2 separate regions of the Homo sapiens genome follow, and region 1 is linked to region 2. Evidence: promoter capture Hi-C in human tissues and cell types (Jung and others, 2019). All regions are on one chromosome and are shown on one strand. Each heading gives the region's core, a stretch centred on a gene start or on the middle of the fragment in contact. The rest is flanking DNA. Distances are from core to core; before and after follow the strand shown.

What was found. The method cuts DNA at HindIII sites, captures the fragments that hold promoters and counts their contacts. A contact is called where the count stands out against the background at its distance.
Region 1: a contact is called between a fragment that was not itself captured here and the fragment with the promoter of KCNJ13 in region 2, in 2 of the 25 tissues and cell types used here (mesenchymal stem cells and spleen).

Annotation. Positions count from the first base shown.
Region 1 is chr2:232,684,280-232,688,109 of GRCh38, reverse strand. No RefSeq gene overlaps it. Among named protein-coding and RNA genes, the nearest start is that of GIGYF2, 11 kb to the left of the region's middle. The HindIII fragment of the contact is 4,802 bases long and covers 1-3,830 here.
Region 2 is chr2:232,775,092-232,778,985 of GRCh38, reverse strand. KCNJ13 (potassium inwardly rectifying channel subfamily J member 13) reads left to right here and starts at 2,421. Exons shown (of 3, transcript NM_002242.4): 1 at 2,421-2,541. The region is part of intron 8 of GIGYF2 (GRB10 interacting GYF protein 2); the gene reads right to left. The HindIII fragment of the contact is 9,389 bases long and covers 1-3,894 here.

The DNA.
Region 1 (3,830 bases), core at 558-3,057, 90 kb after region 2:
CTCAAGCAGTCCTCCTGCCTTGGCCTCCCAAAGTGTTGGGATTACAGGACCCAGAAGGCATCATTCTTGTATAGTACTGTCAGTCCAAGTGGGCAGTGATGTGCCAGCATCTGGCCTCGTGGACAGGCAGAGTCAGCAAGGAGAAATCTGAGCAGCGACAAAACCACAGCTGTCAGACCACATTCAGTAACTGGCAGCCGCCAGGAGCATGCAAGTGAGCCAGCAGATGGGCAGAAATTCCCCTGGGCTGGTCAGAAAAGGGGTCTCAAAATAACAGAGAACATGGGTCCGTGGGCATCTGCACTTGTGGCCAAGACAGCAGCCAGGACTGAGCACTTCTGGGCTACCCTGGCCTGAGACTCTTGGACCTAACTGTAGAGACTCAGGGCGCAGGAGGAGACAGAGTTACAGTAGTGGAGGGAGGGAGGGGAGAGAGAGGAACCCGTGTGTCCTGAGCACTAAATATATGGCAGGCGTGGAATCTGCCAGGTAGGTCACCATCATGCCCATTTTACAGGTGAGAAAATGGAGGCTCAGTGAGGTTCAGTTACTTGCCTAGTGTTCGAGTCCAAATTTCGTTAGATCACACAGCCTCCAGGGCCTAGGCAAGACTAATTGGTGTGTTGTTTTTCCTATTGCTCAGTCAAAGGAGGGCCCTGGGGAGTGACCTCTCTCTCTTCCAGTGAGAAAGATATTCTCACAAGCTCTGCTGTCTCCACTTTCCTGTCTTTTCTTTTCTTTTCTTTTCTTTTCTTTTTTTTTTTTTTTTTTTTTTTGAGGTGGAATTTCGCTCTTATTGCCCAAGCTGGAGTGCAAGTGGCACAATCTCGGCTCACTGCAATCTCCACCTCCCGGTTTCAAGCAATTCTCCTGCCTCAGCCTCCCAAATAGCTGGGATTACAGGCATGCACCACCATGTCCAGCTAATTTTGTATTTTTAGTAGAGACGAGGTTTCTCCATGTTGGTCAGGCTGGTCTCGAACTCCCGACCTCAGGTGATCCACCCGCCTCGGTCCCCCAAAGTGCTGGGATTACAGGGGTGAGCCATCACACCCAGCCAGTCTCCACTTTCAGAGCTGGCCCCTCAGGCTCTCATGGTGGAGTACTCAGAAGTCTCTGACATCAGTGGTAATGATCCTGCCTTGCCCATCTGTCTGCTTTAACAAACCTGGCATGTCCTTGTGAAACCAACATGCAAGGTTGCCTGCTACATGCCACGCAGCATGCTGGGCCTATAGCAATAGGCAAGGCAAACTTCCTGCCCTGCAAAGAGTACACAGTCCAAACAGCGGGGCTGAGAAGTAAGGAGATGGCTACTGCCTCAAGCTGTCAGGATTACAGTAGAGAGAAACTCAGGGAAATGGGAGCCCTGAGAAGGGACACCTTACCTGGCCTGGAAGCATCAAGGAAGCTTCCTGAAGATAATCTCTGAGCTGAGTCTTCAACAGTGAGAAGTAATCCACCTGTGGAAGGGAGGGAGGGAGTGCCAGGCAGAGGAAACCACATATGCAAAAGCCTGGAGGTGTGGAATTTTCTAGGAACAGTTAGGCATCGCATATACCAGGAGTGTAGAGTTTGGAAGGAGACAGGGCAGGGAGGAGGGACAAAAGATGGAGTTGGAGGGATGAGTTGGGGCCAGCTCCTGCAAGTGGGGAATCAAAAATTGAAGGAGAGATGTTAAGAACTGGTTTGCATTTTCTAAGAATTACTCCAGCTGCAAAGCGGACAATCAGGTATAATGAGGGCAGAGAAACCAATGAGGAGCTCACGGTAGAGACCCAGGAAGGAACCTATGAAGGTCTGAGCTGTGACCATGGCGCTGGAGATGGAGGGTGGGAGGCACAAGGGAGCGGCCTCCCGGGGACTCTGTGGCCAAGAGGGAGGAACGACATCCTCTACCTGGCCTTTGTAGTGACATGGCCCCACGTGTCCTGTTTTGTCTGAAGTCCTTTCGTGTTGGATTTTCTATTGCTTGCAATCAGAAGTTGTTTCTATTGCTTGCAATCAAAAGTTTTATTTATTTATTGTTCATTTTTATTTTTTGAGACAGTGTCACCCAGGCTGGAATGCAGTGGTGTGATCTCGGCTCACTGCAACCTCCGCCTCTTGGGTTCAAGGGATTCTCCTGCCTCAGCCTCTCGAGTCGCTGGGACTACAGGCACACGCCACCACGCTCGGTTAATTTTTTTGTATTTTTAGCAGAGATGAGGTTTTGCCATGTTGGCCAGGCTAGTCTCAAACTCCTGACCTCAAGTGATCCACCTGCATTAGCCTCCCAAGGTGCTGGGATTACAGGCATGAGTCACTGCGCCCAGCCTTATTTATTTATTTTTATTTTCACAATTTGTGACAAGCAATCGAGAGTTTTAGCTCTTATGTGGGCCCACTTGTCCAGAAAGGCAAACGGATGCTTCAAGTAAATGACACTGCTATCTCCATTCTCTTCCTTCTTTTTAAATGAATAGCCTTTTTTTCTCGTCTCCTTCACCATTAGACTTTATTATTTATTTATTTATTTATTTATTTATTTATTTATTTATCTTTTTGAGATGGAGTCTTGCTCTGTCATCCAGGCTGGAGTACAGTGGCACCATCTCACCTCACTGCAACCTCCGCCTTCCAGTTTTCAAGCAATTCTCCTGCTTCAGCCTCCCGGGTAGCTGGGATTACAGGCGTGCACCACCACTCCCAGCTAATTTTTTGTATTTTTAGTAGAAACAGGGTTTCACCATGTTGGCCAGGCTGGTCTCGAACTCCTGACCTCAGGTGATCCACCCACCTAGGCCTCCCAAAGTGCTGGGATTACAGGCATGAGCCGCCACCACGCCCACCCTAGACTTTATTTTTTAGAGAAGTTTTAGGTTTACAGAAAAACTGAGCCAAAAGTACATGTTCCCATGTACCCCTCTCACCCTAACTCCCCATTCCCTATTATTATGTTATATTAATGTGGTATATTTGTTACAATTGATATGCCCATATTGATGCATTATTAAACTCCATAGTTAATATTAGGATGCATTCTTTTTTTTTCCTTTTTGAGACAGGCTCTCAATCAGTCATCCAGGCTGGAGTGCAGTGGCATGATCCTGGCTCACTGCAACCTTCTCCTCCTGGGCTCAATCCATCCTCCCACCTCAGCCTCCTGGGTAGCTGAGAGCACAGGCGCATGCCACCACACTTGGCCTTTTTTTTTTTTTTTTTTGAGACAGGGTCTCATTCTGTCACCCAGGTTGATGTGCAGTGGCACGATCTCAGTTCACTGCAACCTCCACTTCCTGGGCTCAAGCTATCCTCCCACCTCAGCCTCAGCCTCCCAAGTAGCTGGGACCACAGATGCCTGCCACCATGCCCAGCTAATTTTTTTGTATTTTTGATAGAAATGGGGTTTCACTATATTGCCCCAGCTGGTCTCAAATTCTTGAGCTCAAGCAATCCCTCTGCCTCAGCCTCCCAAAGTGCTGGGATTACAGGCATGAGCCACCGCTCCCGGCCAAGCTTGGCGTTTTAAAAGTTTTTTGGTAGACACAGGATCTAACTATATTGCCCAGGCTGGTCTCAAACCCCTGAGCTTGAGTGATCTTCCTGCCTCCACCTCCCAAAGTGCTGGGATTCCAGGCATGAGCCACTGCACTCAGCCTAGGGTGCATTCTTTGTGTTGCACATTCTATAGGTTTTGACAAATGTATAAGACATTCATCCACCAGCATCGATAGCATCATGGAGAATAAGTTTCATTGCCCTAAAAGTCCTCTGTGCTGCGTTTATTCATCCCTCCCTCTCTCCTCGCTGACAACCATTGATCTTTTCAATGTCTTCACACTTTTACC
Region 2 (3,894 bases), core at 1,172-3,671:
GGCCTTCTCTGATGCCCCCTTATCTCAAAAAATTCCTTTGTCCCCTCCCTAGAATTTCATCAATCAGGGAAGATTAACCTTATCACATAAGAGATTAAAAGGTCTAGTAGCGTTCTTCCTCAAGTTAATTTTCAATACCTGAAAGACTTTATCTCAATAACTAGACAACTTTTGTTCATCATACATTTCCTCCCCTCATTTTCCCACAGCTTGTCAATACCTTCCCCCAGGACCTCCACATCCCTATTCCAATGCTATAAGAACTTCAATCATCTGGTCCTTCCTCAAGTCTCATGTTTTGTGGGACTCTTGTGCATAAGGATGTAAACTGTTTTTCTTCTGTTAAGTCTACCTACTGTTGCTTTATATTATAGACTCAATTATCAAACCTTCAAAAGGAAGAGAGAAGGTCTTCTCTCTCCCCTACACCAGCTAACCTGGTAACTTCAACCAGAAATGACTTTAAATGCTCAGGCTATTGTAATGGGAGAGCTATGCTCCTAAGTGGGCACTTCAGAGCTGGTCTACAATATTCACAGCAGTAGGAATCACTGTTTATAGACCATAGCAAGACTTTCAAATTGTAGAGATCCAGAAATTAGCTTCACTTAAGACATTTCTTTCTTAATTGAAGATCATTTTGCCAAATCATTTTTGTCTCAATATATTGAAACCAAGTATACTATGGAAAAAGACTTTTAAGTTTAATAAAATCCTTAACTGTCTTGCCTACTATAATATGTATTCTCAGGCCAGGTGAAGTGGCTCATGCCTGTAATCCCAGGAATTTGGGAGGCTGAATTGAGAGGACAGCTTGAGCCCAGGAGTTCAAGACCAGCCTAGACAACACAGCAAGACCCTGCCTCTACAAAAAATAAAAAATTAGCCAGATGTGGTGGCATTACTGCAGGGGGTGGGGGATGAGGTGGGAGGATCACTTGAGCCTGGGAGGTCGAGGCTGCAGTGAGCTGTGATCACACCACTGCACTCCAGCCTGGGTGACACAGCAAGACTCTATGTCTAAAAAAAATGAAAATAAAAAATATACAATGTATATTCAAAACACATGACAGATACACTCAAGTGCTTCTGCTTTCTAGAAGCAGTATTATACTATACTTGTTCTAGTATTTTGTTGTTGTGTTGTTCTGTTTTTCTGCAATTTGTTAGCTGGGAATTGATACACATTATAATTCCTACCAGTACATGCAGGGAATGAGCATCACACCACAAATCCTTCTTTATACTTTACCTTCCCTAGTTCTGAAGGTCAGTGTTTCTAATGCTGTGTCTGAACTTGTGTTGAAGTATTTGGTACTAATAAAACAAAGAAGGAATTAATATATTTTTTAAATTGTGGGGCGGGGGGGGGACGGAGAGGATTCTACAAAGGCGGATTTCACTTTCTAAGTAGCATTATATTGGTCTACATTAATAATTTTCCCAGCAGGCCTTCCAAGATTTTACTTTGAACAATCACAGTCTTTGTTTCTCAGATCCTCTTACATGTGACATTTGGTCAAAGTTTTAAAATCAGCAGCTAACGGAGGAGGAGAAAAGTACTGTTCACTAAGGCACTGCACAAAGCCATACCACAGCACGTTTCAGGGTTCCAACAAGCTGGATCACATTTTCCAGCTAAACACTATTTCAATGTTGTGTTACATTTTCTGTACACTGTACACTATGTTTTATTAACACTATACTTCATCACACTGATCAGGAAAACATCTTCTAAACATCATTAAAATAAGCCTTAAGAAAATTCTTCGGTTCTTTCCCACAGGTGTGCATTTTTTAAAGTATCAGGTACAGAACAATTAATTTTATTCCTATTCAAGGTCTTTGTATACAGCCTTTAAAAAAAAAAAGTTTGTTTCCTAACCAAAAAAATAAAAGATTTCACGTAATTATCTATATTACTAGTTCTGGAACTAATGGTAGCCATTCTGATGAGACATGAGAAGAAAACTAAGAAAATCAATGCATTAATTTATGCCTATAAGTCCTTATCCAAATAAATCTTCCCCAAAGACATGGTGGAAAAAAAAAAAGATTAGTAAAGGAAATATCTCACACTTCAACATGCTATATAAGGAAAGACGGCTGAAAAATCTTGCAGGGAATTTTATCCCTTTGAACTTTCAAAAAAACTCTTAAGTAAGATTATGCAAACTTACTAAAGACCGGTCCTGATTAGAGGGAAAAAATGCACCCCTTCTCCAAGTCAGTTCTGGAGGCTTTCTCCAGAGTTGTTAAGGTTTGTGTTGGGTAAAGAAAGACCTCCTAACAAACCAGCATTCTTTTCCACATGATCAGAGCTAATTGGCCCCCCTGCAGGCTAAGTGACCAATCACATCAACCTCAGCTGAAACCAGCCCCCACAACATTATAAACAGAGGAATGTAAGCTGTAAAACCAGTCCAAGAAGAGAACCTACAAACTAGACTTGTAGATTAAAATTATCTGATCAAAAAGGCAGACTCTGTAAATTTCCTTAAGACCTACCTTGGCATAAAGGCTGACCCAGCAAAAGAACTGGTGAGTACATGCAATAATATCCATTCTTCTTTCCTTATGGGAAACAGGGAAAGAAACTGACTGGCAAATAGCAACAGAGCTAGATTACTTCCAACAGATTTTTAAAACAAAGACATTATCTATAGTGTAGGATAGTAAGGTTTCTATATTCTTTTCCCTTAAATCTTAAAAATGCAATAACAGCCATATTGAATGTATTACTGGAAATTTTCTTAACTGTTTTATTAAATGTATACTAATTTTCTATTACAATATATCAGTAGAGGATAAAGGCCTTAGGAAAAAAAATTCAGTGGCTTGAGGAAAAAAAAAGTCTTTTTCTTTTGGAAGGAATTTCAAAAACCCAAAATGAGCATAAAAAAACAAATGCCAAAAGAATAAGCCACTTTGTTTTTACTTCTGTAATCTAAGAAGAAAGTGATGAGTATCCTAATCGTAAATTTTTAAGCATGGAATTATTGCGGAAATTAATAGATACTTCTGCAACTGAGAAATTAAAATAGAATCTCTGAGCTTATATAACAGGGTTAGAACTCAATAGTGTTTGCCCTAATTGTGGAGGGCAGGAGAAATCATTATAAGACTTTCAATATAGTCTTAAAGTATTTACACCAGACATGAACAAATACATAGTAATGCCATCTTCATTTAATGTTTGTTAGTTATAGCCTTTATCTTAACTCCTCAGTATGAACTATACTATTTTTTATCATGGCAACAGAAAATACATACTTTTAAGTGCTACAACCCAATGAGTAGAATGAATTCTGATGATCAGTGAAGCTGCCTATCATTTTTTAATAGGTACTATTTTTCCTCCAAATAATTTATAAATGGGCAAATATTTTACAGCCCACACACAGCAATAGAAGCAAACCTTCCCAACCTTCCACCTCACTTTCTATTGGGATCAGCTGATGAGACTTAAATATCAGGTAACAATAGTATAATTTTTTAAACCATACGAGCAGACATCAAACTATACAGAAATAAAAGAAATCATATAGGAAACTTGTATCCTTTGTAGGAAGTGGAAATATGTTTGTTTACATAAGTCTGTAGAGCTTTAAGAAATCTTATTATCATAATTCCCTCTTTTTTCACTTTCTTTGTTTTAATCTAAGGATGCCAGGCCAATGGGATTGAGTGGTTTGCCCAAAATGACACAGCTATGTAACCAACAGTGCTAGAGCCTGAAGGCCATATCCCCTTATCCTGCGTTCTCTACACTAAACCACACTGACTATAAGAGTCCACAGAATAGTTATTCAGGGTAATTGGTTAAGTGGGAATCAGAAATCAATCTTCCTTCTCTATATTACTCCACTTGCCAACACAATCCAAACCAAATCC